Regions from separate parts of the Homo sapiens genome. Here region 1 is linked to region 2. Evidence: promoter capture Hi-C in 16 types of primary human blood cells and fetal thymus (Javierre and others, 2016). All regions are on one chromosome and are shown on one strand. Each heading gives the region's core, a stretch centred on a gene start or on the middle of the fragment in contact. The rest is flanking DNA. Distances are from core to core; before and after follow the strand shown.

The links. Contacts are between HindIII fragments. The CHiCAGO score rates a contact against its expected background, and 5 or more counts as called.
Region 1: a contact is called between a fragment that was not itself captured here and the fragment with the promoter of GPX2 in region 2, in 1 of 17 cell types (megakaryocytes). The highest score is 6.3, in megakaryocytes.

Annotation. Positions count from the first base shown.
Region 1 is chr14:64,818,169-64,825,175 of GRCh38, forward strand. It overlaps SPTB (spectrin beta, erythrocytic), which reads right to left. Exons shown (of 36, transcript NM_001355436.2): 2 at 4,779-4,977. The coding sequence starts at 4,926. Among named protein-coding and RNA genes, the nearest start is that of MIR7855, 36 kb to the left of the region's middle. The HindIII fragment of the contact is 3,846 bases long and covers 2,215-6,060 here.
Region 2 is chr14:64,939,251-64,946,240 of GRCh38, forward strand. GPX2 (glutathione peroxidase 2) reads right to left here and starts at 3,495. Exons shown (of 2, transcript NM_002083.4): 1 at 3,255-3,495; 2 at 1-588. The coding sequence starts at 3,476. The coding sequence ends at 238. The region is part of intron 3 of CHURC1-FNTB (CHURC1-FNTB readthrough); the gene reads left to right. RAB15 (RAB15, member RAS oncogene family) reads right to left here. Exons shown (of 7, transcript NM_001308154.2): 7 at 6,566-6,990. The HindIII fragment of the contact is 4,140 bases long and covers 1,251-5,390 here.

The DNA.
Region 1 (7,007 bases), core at 2,888-5,387, 120 kb before region 2:
ATGAGAGGCCCTATTTAGTCTATCCTTTGGTGATTGCTCCACAGGCCAAAGAACAGGAGGAAGACTGAGAAAGAACGTGAAGGCCATCTCTTTCCCACAGGCCCTTCGCAGGAGGCTCCGGACTGCTCCCTGCACTGCGAGATGCCTCTGTGAGCCGAGGAGCTGTAAAACACGCAGCGGGCGGCACATGGGATGCCGGATGCCAAGCTGTGTGCATGGGTAAGGCAGGGGAGTGGAAGGAGGGAGGGGAGGGAAGAGAGAAAGGGGAATGAGGCTCATGCACAGGGCTTCTCTTTTTGGGGCATCTTTCTGTGGGGTTCCTCCACTCCCTGCTCTCCCTTCTGGGCCACATCTACCCTGAGGCAGCATCCTCACTGGAGTCACTGGAGTCTGTACCCAGGTGCAGGGAAGGGGAGGAGTGTGCAGGCAGGCAGATGCCTCCTCTGGGGTGAGGAGAGGGAGACAGAGGATGGGCATTCTGACTGGTAAGTTCCCTGCAGCCTGCAGTGTTTCATTCTTCATCCAGACGGCCACAAATGCTCATCTGGCAGCTCCCAGTATGAAAAGGGGAAGGAGAAGAAATGGGGCTGTGTGACAATTAGGGGGACTCTAGGAGATGGGGGGAGCCTTTCTATTGAAACATGAAGGCTGGAACCTTTTGGAAGGATAGGAACTTGGGCTTTTCAGCTGCTGCTCTTCCTGTAATCCCTGAAAACAGGTCCAGAAAGTAGGAAGGTGCCAGAGGCAGTCATCAAAAGAGAGAAGCATGGTCTCCAGTCCAGGAAGAAGCCTCAGGGCTACCTGCTACTTAACCTCATGACAGGCGGCCAGCTTAGAGACTGATGTTAAAACGCTAAAATCTGCTCAGGGATCTACAGGGCAAATATTCCTGCTGGGATCCCAGCCCTCCCCTTGGCATTGCCAAGGTCAAATCCACCCCCTTACAGGAGCCTTCTGCAACATTTTCCTACCCTTCTTCCTTTTCACTTTAGTTAGGCTGACTCCCAGTTTCATAAAGAAAGTCATTCATTCTGGAGAGAGGTCAGGTTTTTATGTACTAGGACAGATGAGCCAGATGGCTTGTTTCTTTAGGTCCAGGAAGGAAGACCTGGGAGTGGTATGAAAGGCAGAACAGGGAGTATTTCCTTTGGAGTTGAGAGGAATTTTACTTAAGAAGCAGAAAAGATCACATCCAGTCACCCCAATTCAGGTCTTCCAACCATAGGTCATTAAATGGAGATGGACCTAGAGAAACTGTCTCATCTGGAAAAGCATTTGACAAGACCCATCATCCTTACGTTTCTTGGGCCTCCCATGTCACCCAGCCAGATGGCGGAGACACAGCCAGGGTCGTGGACTGGATAGTCTTATGGAGAGAGAGAGACCTGCATGGCATGGGGCTTCATCTCATGGGCATCAGGTCTGGGGGAAGGGGAAAGAGCCCAGAGCTCCAAGCACAAACATTAGCCTGGTTTCCTTGGTCCCTGGCTTTTCCTTCCAACTCAGAACTTCCAAGGCAAAGGAGGGTGGGGGTTAAGAAGGAAGAAACAGGTCCTGGAACAGGCCAAGGTACAACAGGCAAGGAAAAAGACCAAGCTCATGATCTTGAATGTCTGAAGTTGGGAAAAGAGAAAGGACAGAAAACACCGATGGGAAATTTTCTTAGTACTAACATTATCTAACATTCACCTAGCATTTTATTATAAATAAAAACTTCCGTAAACTTTATCTTATTTGCTCTTCACAACAACCTTGAGAAAATACTATCATCCCCATTTTATAAAAATGGAAAAGGAGTCAGTGATCCTCCACTGCGGTGGCATTAGAGGCAGAATCAGGACTTGAATCTGGATCTTGTGACATGTTCCTCCTCACCCCAGGACCTTCAGTTTCAGAAGAAGACGCCAGGCCAGTCTCCCCAACCTTGCCACATATACCTATGAAGTAGATCACTGCTATCTTATAAGCAACTCAGGGCTGAATCCCCTCCTTGCCTTAATATTCCTGTGAGTGGGAGAGTGGCTGAGAGCTCCTTCTCCCTAATGTTTCTTTTGAAAGACACCCCTGCCTAGGCTGCTAAGGTGGCCCCAACAACAGTACTGAAGGGAAAAAAAGTCAAGACGTTGAGACTAGGAAGGCTGACATGCTCCCTTTCTCCATTCTGCCTACCCAGCAGAATGGGCACATCTGGCCACCCTATTTAGACCTTTCCAAAGCTTTAGCTCAAGCCCAGGTCACTTAGAGTGGACTCTCAGGAGAAGGAAGCCAGTAAACCACTTAGGTTGTTTGTTCTTGAAAATCTTGAAAGGACCTCAAACTTGCATATTTACTTGTTGGCCAGATGTTCTGAATAGTTAAGGCCCAGGCATACAATTCTATGCTCTGTGGCTTTTCCTCTCCCTGGGGGGCATTCAGATTCTCTGGTAAGTCAGATGCATGCTCCTGGTGAGGAGGAGGCTCAACTAGGCACAGCCAAGGTCAGCAAAGGCTCTTTCCTGATCAACCTAGGACTGACCACTAAACACAGAGTCTTGCTCTGTCACCCAGGTTGGAGTGCAGTGGCGTGATCTTGGGTCACTGCAACCTCCGCCTCCCGGGTTCAAGCAATTCTCGTGCCTCAGCTTCTTGAGTAGCTGGGATTACAGGCATGCACCACCACGCCCAGCTATTTCTTTTTTTTTTGGATTTTAGTAGAGATGGAGTTTCGCCCTCTTGGCCAGGCTGGTCTTGAACTCCTGGTCTCAAGCCATACACTTACCTCAGGATCCCAAAGTGCTGGGATTATAGGCATGAGCTACCACGCCCGGCTTTGTGCTCGGCTCATTAACCTGTCTCCACCAACTTCCCAAGCAGCTCATCAGACGTGGTGACAACACACACAGGCCAACTGGAGAAACCCGGGGCCCTTCTGCCTGCCAGAATCACACACACCCTTCAATTCCCAGCTCAAAGGCTGCCTCCTCCATGAACTGTTCCCCGATTTTCCTTGCATCTCTTCCTTGGCTCTCTCATTGCTGTTTAATTTATGTGCCCATCCTACAGTTCTTCTCTAATTCCACTCATGCTAATTAATTGTGAACATAGTTCATTTTTCCCTAATAGATTTTGAACTCCTGAGAGACAGACACTATACTGAATTCATCTCTGTGGTTCCCCTCTCCCCTTTCATGGTTGGCCAGGGGTTTAGCTTTAAACATAGTAGGAGTACAACAAGCAACTGTTAAAATAGAATTTACCTTGGTTTCTTAAAAAAGATAAAAGAATCTCTGCACAAAGGCCAGTCCCCACTCTTACCTTGCTTTGGCAAATCTTACGGAATATGGTACCCCTCTCCCTCCACCTGGATCGCCAGGGTCATTGCAGCTAGATCCAGCCAGCACAGAGATATAAGAAGGTAAAACCAGACTGACGACAAAGCCAATGGTTCCAAGTTTGGTTGGCTTAAATTAACATACACAAAAGCAATGGGTCACCGTTATGGTCCGTCCCCAAGGGAAACCAAGGGAGAATTTTGTGGGGTCAAGGAGGGTGAGAAGGAGATAAAGAAAGAAGAAAGAGAGTTTCCTGTAAAGAGCAAGGACACCAGGGGTAATGACTGAGACCCAAGTGGATTCCTTGTCATGACAAGGGAGATGAGACACCGCAGCATTCCTTTCCCGGCATGAGAAGCCCAGACACTCCCAAGATGTGAGGTCATTATGGTCCCAGAGGGGTCCAGGGCCCTGCTCAGGCTTCAAGGTCTGCCAGGGACTGTGGTATCTGGGAGCTGAGTACAGGGAGGGAGTGGGGAAGAGGATTACTACAACCTTCAATTTGGGCCATAAGGTATGGGGGCAGCGGGAGAATCACTCCAGAAAGTGTTTATGGGGAAGGTTGTACTCTTCTTAGGAGGTGGAAGACGGCAACAGTCAATGATAGGGAAACAGGTCCAGTGTGGGCTGCTGACTGGTGGATCAGGTGAAGGAACCCACCTTCCACACATACACACACAACCCCATGTAACTCAAACTTTCTTATTGGCCGAAGACTTAAGGTCGGAATATACTTACCCTGGGTCAAGTTCAGGGAGGCAATAGTCACAGGAGTTGGGGAAAAAAAAAAAATCCCAAGAATCAGATATCAGCCAACAGGGGGAGGAGAAGTCATTTCTACTAGAGATTTAAGATATTCTCCACCCCCACCTTCTCTCTCTCTCTCTCTCTCTCTCACACACACACACACACACACACACACAGAGAGATCTATTATGAACCTGCTAAGCAAAAATCTAATTCCAGTTTAAGGATGAAAGGTTTCATCAAGAAAATCCTTCCTGAGGCAGTGGGGAGGATGTTATCTGTTCTCGATTTCCTATCCAATCACTCCTTTTGGGACTACAGAGAGGACTATGGTAATTCCTCTCTCTAGGCCCAGGCAGGAAATCGGGGTTAACCAGGAGGCCCTGTGAACCTGCGCCCGGCTGTCCAGCCCTCAGACACTGCTTTGCCCAGACTCTCGTACTTCTCACTTGGCCGCAGGTCACTCAGGACAGAGGCAGAGGGCAGGCCCCACCTGGTCCCAGCTCCAGCACCTCCTTGCTTCTCAGAGGCCTTGGGGGCAGAGGCTGCCTGAGCTCCCTCCCAAGGGGACCCCCACCTCCCTGAGCCCGACAAACACGTCTCCATCACTGCCATGCCAGGGCTCACCCAACACACACAGAGGATTCACACTAGGTGGGGAGGGCTGTGAACCTTGTGACTGTGAGAATGCCCTCCAACCCTTGTGGCCCCAAACAGTACCTGCCAAGGCCTTTATCCGGGACCTCTCAAAGAGCCTGGCTGAGCTGTTGTCATTATCCAGCTCGTCGTCTGGGGCGTCCCAGCGGGCATTGATCCTGCTGTAAGGTGGCTGGTTGCCCACATTTTCAAACTCTGTGGCCGATGTCATGTCAGCAGGCTCTTAGCAGCTCCGCCTGCCTCAGTCTTCATGGAAGGATCCCTGGGGGACAGCAACACAGTCAGAGGGTTATCTCTCTACCCCCTCGGACTTTTTCTCCGGGGAAACTTATTCGGAGCATCCAACGTGAGTAGATCCTGACAGAAGCAGAACGCCATGTCATCTGCCTGGGCGTGCTTCCTACCAGGGTCTCTGGGTCGTTTGTTATAAAATATTGCAGCAGCAGCAGCAGCAACAGTACCGGCAGCAGTGGCAGGGATGGAGAGCTGCACGTAGCAAGGGTCAGGACGGCCAGCAGGTGGAGACGTCAGTCGCAGCCAGCTGCTTCCTCCAGACCAGCCGCCCCGCCGCGGGGAGCACCCCGGGAGAGAGGAAGCTCTCCTGGGAGCCAGAGGCAGCAGGGCACAAGCTGGGGAAAGCAACCCTCACCCTGAGGACTAGGCCAGGACCTAACCTGGTGGGGGAGATGGGGACAGGCCAGGGGAAGGGAGAGGCTGGAAACAGGCTGAGTCTGACCCATATGGGAACCATGGGGAGAGATGGATGAGAGAGTTAAGCCGCCACTGACGCCACCAGCCCGGGGCAGCTGCACTGGGGGGACTTCACTCCTCCCGGAGGCTTTCTGAGAGCCCTCTGAGTTCCTTCCCAGCAGTTGGTATTCAGAAAGCTGACCTCGCATTTTAGGGCTTCTTTGGAGCATGACCAGGTGCTCAGATGAGGTCTCCTGTTGAATTCCAGGACAGACTGAGCAACCCAAAGGAGCCTGCTGTCCCATCAAGCACGTGGCAGTCGGGGCATCCCATGGACAATGGAACCGTGCATTGTGAGTCCATGTGATGAACCAGCGCATCAGGAGCACTGGGTCCTCCCTCACCCGTCATCAGTCATTCCTACTCACTCATTCATTCATTTACAGTTAATTCAAATATGTACCAAGCTCCAACTAGGTGGCAGGCACTGTACTAGGCAGGGGCAAGTAAGACAGGAAAGTCATGTCCTCACAGAGCTTGGAATCTGGTGGCAGAGACACACAATTAAACAAGCAACTACAAGAAGGTGTGATGTGTGTCATGGCTGGCTTAGGTGGGGACTCGGCGGGGACTGGTATCAGGGAGGGGAAGTTGAAGCTTATTCCTAAAGGAAGCTTGGAGGTACCCATGAAGGGACAGGTGGGAAAGGACAAGAGTCCAAGCAAAGGGAATAAAGAGTAGGTGTAAAGTCCTGAAGGTAAGAAAGAACACAGAAAGCTTTGAGAACTTTAAGAAGTAACGGGAAGGCAGGGGTGGAGTCAGGGGAGAAAAGTGAGGAGGGGGCCAGGGGAGCCAGGCTTGGTCTTCAATGCCCTGGACCCTAGGAAAACTATTAGCTTTCTTCATCTGTACCTGACATTTGGTCCTCTTTCTAGGGATCTTAAGGGACTCCAAGATCAAGTCTGTAAGAGAATAGGGGACCCAGAGCCTTCACAACCAAGAGAGCAAAGCGGGAGGCAGGGAGGCTGTGAGGCAGACCTGTGATGGGGGTTGACAGCCAGTGAGCTGTGAGGGAGACCACTCCCTCTGTGGGTGTGTGCACCCACGGCACACACACAGGCTCATATCTGACACACTGACACACACCAGCACACACATGCACATCCACCAGGCACATGATCACGGAGGCACTGAAGCACATTCACCAGCCCAAGTGTGAGATGGCAGCAGGGCTACAGCCTTATTTTTCAGATACAGACTCACTTCAGACTGCATTTTCCCCAACCTGATGAATCCATCCCACCACATCCTTGTGAGGTAAGATAGGAGCCAGGATTACCCACCCTAATTGCCTTGGGAGAAAAACCAAGGCCTGCTGCAGGAGGAGGCCTCCCCAGGGTCATCCGGTGGAATGACTGCGGCTGGGACCAAAGGCCAAACTGGAGCGCAGTTTATCCCCCTTGACCAGACGGGTTTCAGGAGGGCAGGTGGGGAAAGGACTGGAGCACAGTTTATCCCCCTTGATCGGACAGGTTTCAGGAGGGCAGCTGGGGAAAGGACTGGAGCACAGTTTGTTCCCCTCAATCAGAAGGGTTTCAGGAG
Region 2 (6,990 bases), core at 2,245-4,744:
CCATCATTCTGTGAAGGCCCAGAGCTTACCCAAGTCTTGGAGCCCAAGTTGAATCACCAACCAGAGGGTTGGGAGAGGAAAAGGAAACAGGCAGAGGGGAAAGGCAAGGCTCTGCAGTGAAGGGGACTGATATCAAGGGAATGCTGAGGTCCAGCAGTGTCTCCTGAAGGCATGCTGCATCCTAAGGCTCCTCAGGACTGGATGGAGTAGGAGATCTGTGTGTTGAGCAGTTCACATCTATATGGCAACTTTAAGGAGGCGCTTGATGTCAGGCTCAATGTTGATGGTTGGGAAGGTGCGGCTGTAGCGTCGGAAGGGCTCTCCCTCCGGCCCTATGAGGAACTTCTCAAAGTTCCAGGCCACATCTGAGCGGCGCACAGGGCTCCAAATGATGAGCTTGGGATCGGTCATGAGGGAAAATGGGTCATCATAAGGGTAGGGGAGCTTGTCCTTCAGGTAGGCGAAGACAGGATGCTCGTTCTGCCCATTCACCTCACATTTTTGGACAAGGGTGAAGGTGGGCTGGTATCCACCCCCAGGACGGACATACTTGAGACTGTTCAGGATCTCCTCATTCTGACAGTTCTCCTAGGGGAGGAAAAAGACAAAGTGCGTGGACAGTGGGTGGGGGAAGAGAAAGATCCACAACATGAAACTCTTTCACCCTCCTACACTCCCTCCCCAGGGTCATTCTTTTTCACTGTGAAAGAGAGAGAGACAAGACAGACGAGGTGTTGCTCACTGCAGCCTTGAACTTCTGGGCTCAAGCATTCCTCCTGCTTCAGCCTCTTTAGTAGCTGAGACTACAGACACAGGCCACCATGCCCGGCTAATTTTTTTTTTTTTTTGTAGAGATGGGGTCTCACTTTGTTGCCCATGCTTTGGCTGCTCTTCAAGATTTAGCACTTCTGAGCTGTTGCTTTTGTCTCCAGTCTACCCTGAGCAGTTCTTAAGGTGTTTGAAGCAGAAGAAAGAGAAAAGAGGCTTAGGTTATACTGCTTAGAACCTCCTCTTCAACTAACCTACCGACCCACCTACCCATAAATCCATACCTACACACACACCCCTTTCCTTTCCTCTGCCCTGGTTTTGCCTCGCCTGCTTTCAATTGCACGTGTGTTGAGTATAGCCTTTGCCTCTGCCTACTCAGCTCCTTGAACTGAGGGTGAAATTGAGACCCAGAGGAATGGGATTTACAGCTTCTTGCTTTCTTCTTGCCTTGTCCTAGAACTGAAGTACAAATGGGAAGAAGCTTTGATGAAGGAAGACCCCCATCCAAGAACATCTAGTTTTCAGGTGCCATAACAGCAGAGCAAGTTCAAGGCAACAATGAATGTGTACTCTAAATGGAACTACTTAGTAACCAACAGGCATGAAGTAAATAGGATACAGGATTTAGGGTTTGGCAATAGGCCAGGGGGAGGGGGAGTTGAGGAAATAAGTGCTTGATGGCTAAAGATTGTGAGTATGTAATTATCATTCTTTTCTTGAGTAGGCTGCTACCCAAAGACTGCTGCACCTCCTATCCACTCACTGCTCTCAGCTACGCATGCTTTGGCTCAAAACCTGGTCCCTGCCTTTCCCTCCCCACTGCCATCCCTGTCCTATTCCCTCTCAGCATCACCATTCATGACAATCCAAAAGGCCTATGGGAACCCTTCTTTTCCACCTCTACCTTTCCAATTTAACAGACAGATACCTTCCTCTGGGAGAAAGTTCCTGCTTCTGACCTGTGAGAACTAACTAGTTCAGTCAGTTCCAGGCCATCATGACATCATGAGCCCAGAGCTGATCTCTAGTGGACTTCTCTGTTTTTGTTTCTGTTTTTTTTCCTGAGACAGGGCCTCACTCTGTCACCTAGGCTGGGGTGCGGTGGCACAATCATAGCTCACTGCAGCCTCGACTTCCCAGGCTCAGGCGATCCTGCTACTTCAGCGTCCCAAGTAGCTGTGACTACAGGCACATGCCACCATGCCTGGCTAATTTTTGCAATTTTTTGTAGAAACAAGGTTTCACCATGTTGCTCAGGCTAATCTTGAACTCCTGAGCTCAAGCAATCTGCCTACCTTAGCCTCCCAAAGCGCTGGGATTATAGGTGTGAGCCACTGTACCCTGGCAGATTTCTATTTCTTGATACAAATGGCTGGCTGGCTCCTGGTAGGTTATAGACTCCCTCCAGCAACTTGCTAGGCTGAAGAGATGGTGTGAGGCTGGAGGTACTTCTGGGGCTGGAGGGACATCTCGAAAGAGGGTTTGCTACTTCTGTCTCTCCTGCTCTAGAAAAGGCCAGACAGAAAACTTAGGGAAGAACAGTGAGAGCAGTGAACAGTTTGGGCTCAGGTTTGTCACAGCCAGTGATGCTTCAGCCTTCCTGCTTTCCTGTCTTCCTCACCTTCATACCACTGTGAATTGAACTAAGGGGATTATAACGAGAGGGTTCGCTTGGGTTCATTCTCCCTGCTTGTACGTTAAAATCATAGGTGGAAATAGAAGAATCCCTAAAAGAGAACTCGAGGTGTGTGGGCTGAAGATCTATAACAGCTTGACCCATTAATCAGAAATAGGTGCATGTAATGCCCAGAGGCACGTGCCTTTTGAAAACCTTTCTCTTTCCTGCTTATTTTCTTTCCACTTGGCTAATTTAAACCAACAAAAATCATCCTCAATCTAAATAACAGTTTGCTTGCATTTGCATAGTACTTTATATTTTTCAAGTTACTTTTGTATATCCTGTCCCCTAAACATCATAATAATCCTATGAGCTAAGTGGTATTATCCCCAATTTACAGATGAGGAAACTAAACCGAAAAATGAAGCGCCCTTTCCGAGGGCACAGAGCCATTAAATAGCAAAACCAAGTCCAGCTAGAGCTAAGGTCTCTTGAGTCTGTCCAATTCTTGTTTGATTCCTGGCCTCTACTTTCTCCACTCATTTATTCAACAAATATTTAATGAGTGCTTTCTGTGCCCTAGGCACTGAGGACACAGTGGAGAGAAACACAGACCTGGAACCAGCCCTCATGGAGTAATATAGTAGAAAGACAGTAAACTATAAAAATCACACAGCCTCAGTGTTTAATCTTAAAAAATATATACCTTCTCTTGGTATGTCACATGCACCTAAAGACCTAGCTTAACAAAACATACCCCATTATTCCAGACACTCCAAAACATGGTCATTCAGCCTCTCCTTTTATCCCACCTGAGCTACACCAACCCAACACTTTTGGTGCATTACAAGGAGGGACCCCTCACCTGATGTCCAAATTGGTTGCAAGGGAAGCCAAGGACCACCAGGCGCCTGGGAAAGCGGCATTGCAGCTCGTTGAGCTGGGTGAAGTCCCGGGTGGTTGTGCCTCAGAGCGAAGCCACATTCTCAATCAGCACGGCCCTGCCCCGGAACGTATTGAAATCTACCTTCTCCCCATCCAGGCTGATGGCACTGAGGTCATAGAAGGACTTGGCAATGAAAGCCATGGTGAAGCGCAGAGTGAGCCCCGCAGAGAGGCCTGAGCCCACTTATGAGCCTATTAGAGGGGTGGGGAGGAAGGAGGAGCCAGGAAGGAGGACAGAAAGGATCTAACAATGGAGCTTTGAGCATCCCCAGGATGACTTAGCAAAAACAGGTCCCCACCTGTAAGTGCTGTTTGAACAAGGAGGTTGCTCCTCCTATTAACAGACTGAACAAGGCCGCCTCCCCGCCCCACCCTGCTGCAACCTGGGAAGGGCCAATTTGATATCTATGAGCAGAGGTAAATAATTCACTGCTTACAGGAAACCAGAGCCCTAAAGGTCGAATGGAGAGGAAAAAAAGGGAGGGAGGGATGCAGGATTGACTCCTACTTGCCCCATCAAGTTGTTCTCATTTGACACAGACGTTTATTGAATGCCTGCTGAGTGTCAATCTCTGAATTGTACAGTGAGAGGGCAGGGTCTGCGGAGATCTGAAAGATGAAGAAGAGAATTGAGCCTCCTATCCATGGGACTCAGATGACAACTGAAATATACATATTCCTGTTCACGTTCTTCTCTTTGTTGCTTTCCACCAGGACAAAATCAAAGGGACCCTTAGGAGGAGAGTGTGTCATTTTCTAGGGGAAAAAAGAAGTTTTCAGTGCCTCAGCTCTTGCCAGGCTGAAGAGACAAAGTTGTGTTTATCTTGAAAAGTCTTTCAGTGCGTGGTGCCACTTGTCCTGGAGAACACACCAGCCTCTGCCCCTGCACTGTACCATCTCCTATATTATATCCCCCACCTCCACCTCATCCCCCAGCCCCCAAGTCATGAGGCTCAGTCGTTGCTGGGAGAATGGTGAAGAGGAGTCACAGAACAGGTGGATAAACTTAGTGGATGAACTGCACCTACCTTCCTCTCAGACAGAGATTTGGTCCCCAAGACTTTTCAGAGCGGGTTTGTGCTGGTCACCTTCCCACAGAAGGAAGTGTGTGGAGGAAGTTGAAGCTGCTGTGGTTCCAGACGCAGGCAGGTCACCCCTGATGCTTTCAACAAGAGGCGTGCAGTGCATCGCAGGACATCTGCTAAGGGCCATCTCAGAGGCCCACCCCTGGAAGCCACAGAAACCGAAAAGACCCAAGCACCCGCCAACTCAACAAGTTACTCTTTTAAAAATGCCTTGATTTCTTCATCAGTAAAACTAGCAATGGGGCTTGACCTAGCTTTGGGATTTTAGAGTGAAATTTCAATAACAAAGCAAATGTTTACTAGGGTGTTTTCACAGGGGCACATCCATTGGGAACTGTCTCCTTGGAACAAAGAATAAGCAAGTCCGGGGAGCAGCTGGTCTTGAGAATCTGATTTGTTGAGATGAGATGAAGTAATTATCACCAGGGAGCGCCAAGCTGCCTTGCAGCTTTTCCATGGCTGTTCAAGTATACAGGGACCATGTGTCTCAGCTGGCTGCTCCCTAAAAACAAGTTTCCATTACCTAAGTGGACAGAAGGAGTGACAGGAAGTGTAGAGGGAAGTGTGTCCCCTGCTGAAGCTGGGTGGAGTTCCTAGAAGCAACCAATAAGAAAGAGTCCCCACCAAGCCACTGAGTCACAAGGACTTGGCACTGATAGTGGGCAGAACTGTAACTTGCCGGATTTATGTGCATACCTAGAGCTTCCCCCTAGTACTCTCTGGGCCTCCAGAGACACCTCTTATTCTCTGCTCTTTTGCAAGCCTTCTTCAAGAAGGCCATGGGAGTTCCCAAGATGAGGAGTGTGGGGGTTCCCTCTTCCTTAGGTACATGCCATCCCTTTTCTCCTGGTGTGACCTTGGACCCTTCAGACTCCCAGGGTTCTCACCTTTCCTAATGGAATATACTTGGTGAGGCTCTCCTAAAATATCTCTGTCTCCAAATTTACCTCAAACTGGCCTCGCTTTCCAAAAGCTTACAACTTTAAGCATACACTAAGCAGCGTATGATTCTTATGGCTTTCTGTGGGACAGTGCTTGCTCTGGACACAGCACTGGCTTAGGCAGAAAGCCTGGGTTGGTGGTTCTTAATTCTGACTGCAAATGAGAATTGTTTGTAGGAATTTTTCTAGAGATGCCAAAGCTTTGCCCTCCAGTGATTCCAATTCAGTGGTTTACAACCACAATTCTGCCACTGTTACTTCGGACCCTTAGGCAAATCTTTAAGCTCTTTTTATTGAGACAGGGTCTTTCTCTGTCACCCAGGCAGGAGTGCAATGGTGCAACTGCAGCCTTGACCTTCTGGGCTCAAGTGATCCACTGGCCTCAGCCTCACAAGCCACCACACTCAGCTAATTTTTTCTAGAGACAGTGTCTCACTATGTTGCCCAGGCTGGTCCCAAACTCTTGGGCTCAAGCAGTCCTCCTGCCTCGGCCTCCCAGAGTTGGGATTACAGGCATGAGCCACTGCACCCGGCCAAATCTTTAAGTTCTCTGATCATCTGTTTCCTTGCCTGTGGGACCTGGGTAGATAACCACCCTCCCCATCTCACACGGTGATGGTTAGGGTCAGAAGAGTTTATCTATCACTAGTGCCGGGTAAAGTGTAGTGAAAATCTTAAGACTACTGTTGTCCTGCGTTGTCCTACTCCTTTCTTCATTCAGTCCTTATCCCCAATATTCTCCACCTCCATCAATTCCATATCCCAAAGTATGAAATACCTGCAGTCCTGAGATCCCAGTCTGCCTCTGCTCCCCCGAGGTATCCAATCACAAATCTGAAAGATTATCCAGTCCCACCTCATGCCTTCAGGAAGACCCGTTCCTGACCCACACAAACAGATGAGACTCATCTTGGCTTTAAAACCTGCTCATAGATGTTCAGCATCCTCTCGATAACTGTGTTTCATCTTATTTCTGCAGTGCCAGCCCAATGCAGGGCAACGGGGCTTTGCTTTGGGCCTCCCTGCAGGTGGCACTAGGGAAGGTAGAGAAGGGAAGACAATGTTTGCCGCTTCCGTGGTCACTCTACTGCTGTTGCCTTTGCTTCTGGAGCTGCTTCTACCAGCACTGCCTCTCTCCCTCCCACATCACTGCCAGGGTCTGAGTGAGACCTACCCCCAAGGACTCATCCAGGCAGCCACACCGGTGGTTTGAAATAATCTTTATTTTGTAAACATCTGTGTTTAAAATAGATGAACCCTGCTCACAATTCATATATGGACCCGAGACACAGTACACGAAGTTCACCCGTCACAGGGAGATAGTGGAGGCTCAGGAGCAGGTGGCGTGCCTGGGGCTGGATGGAGTCTCAAGACAGCAGGTGCAGAGGTGGTGACGAGTAAACAGGCCAGCAGAGCCTGGTTAACAGTCTGGGCCTCAAGACATGCCCCAGGCCACCAAAAGTTTAGGGTGAGCGTAGCTGCACCCTAAAATCCCAATTCTCCTTCTGCTCCCATACCTTTTCCCAGTCATGGCCCTTGTGGATAGGGCCTATCAGTCTATAGAATCCTGATTCCATGTTTTCCCTTCCAGAACCCCTAGGGTACAGTACAAATATAGTCCTTCTTTCCT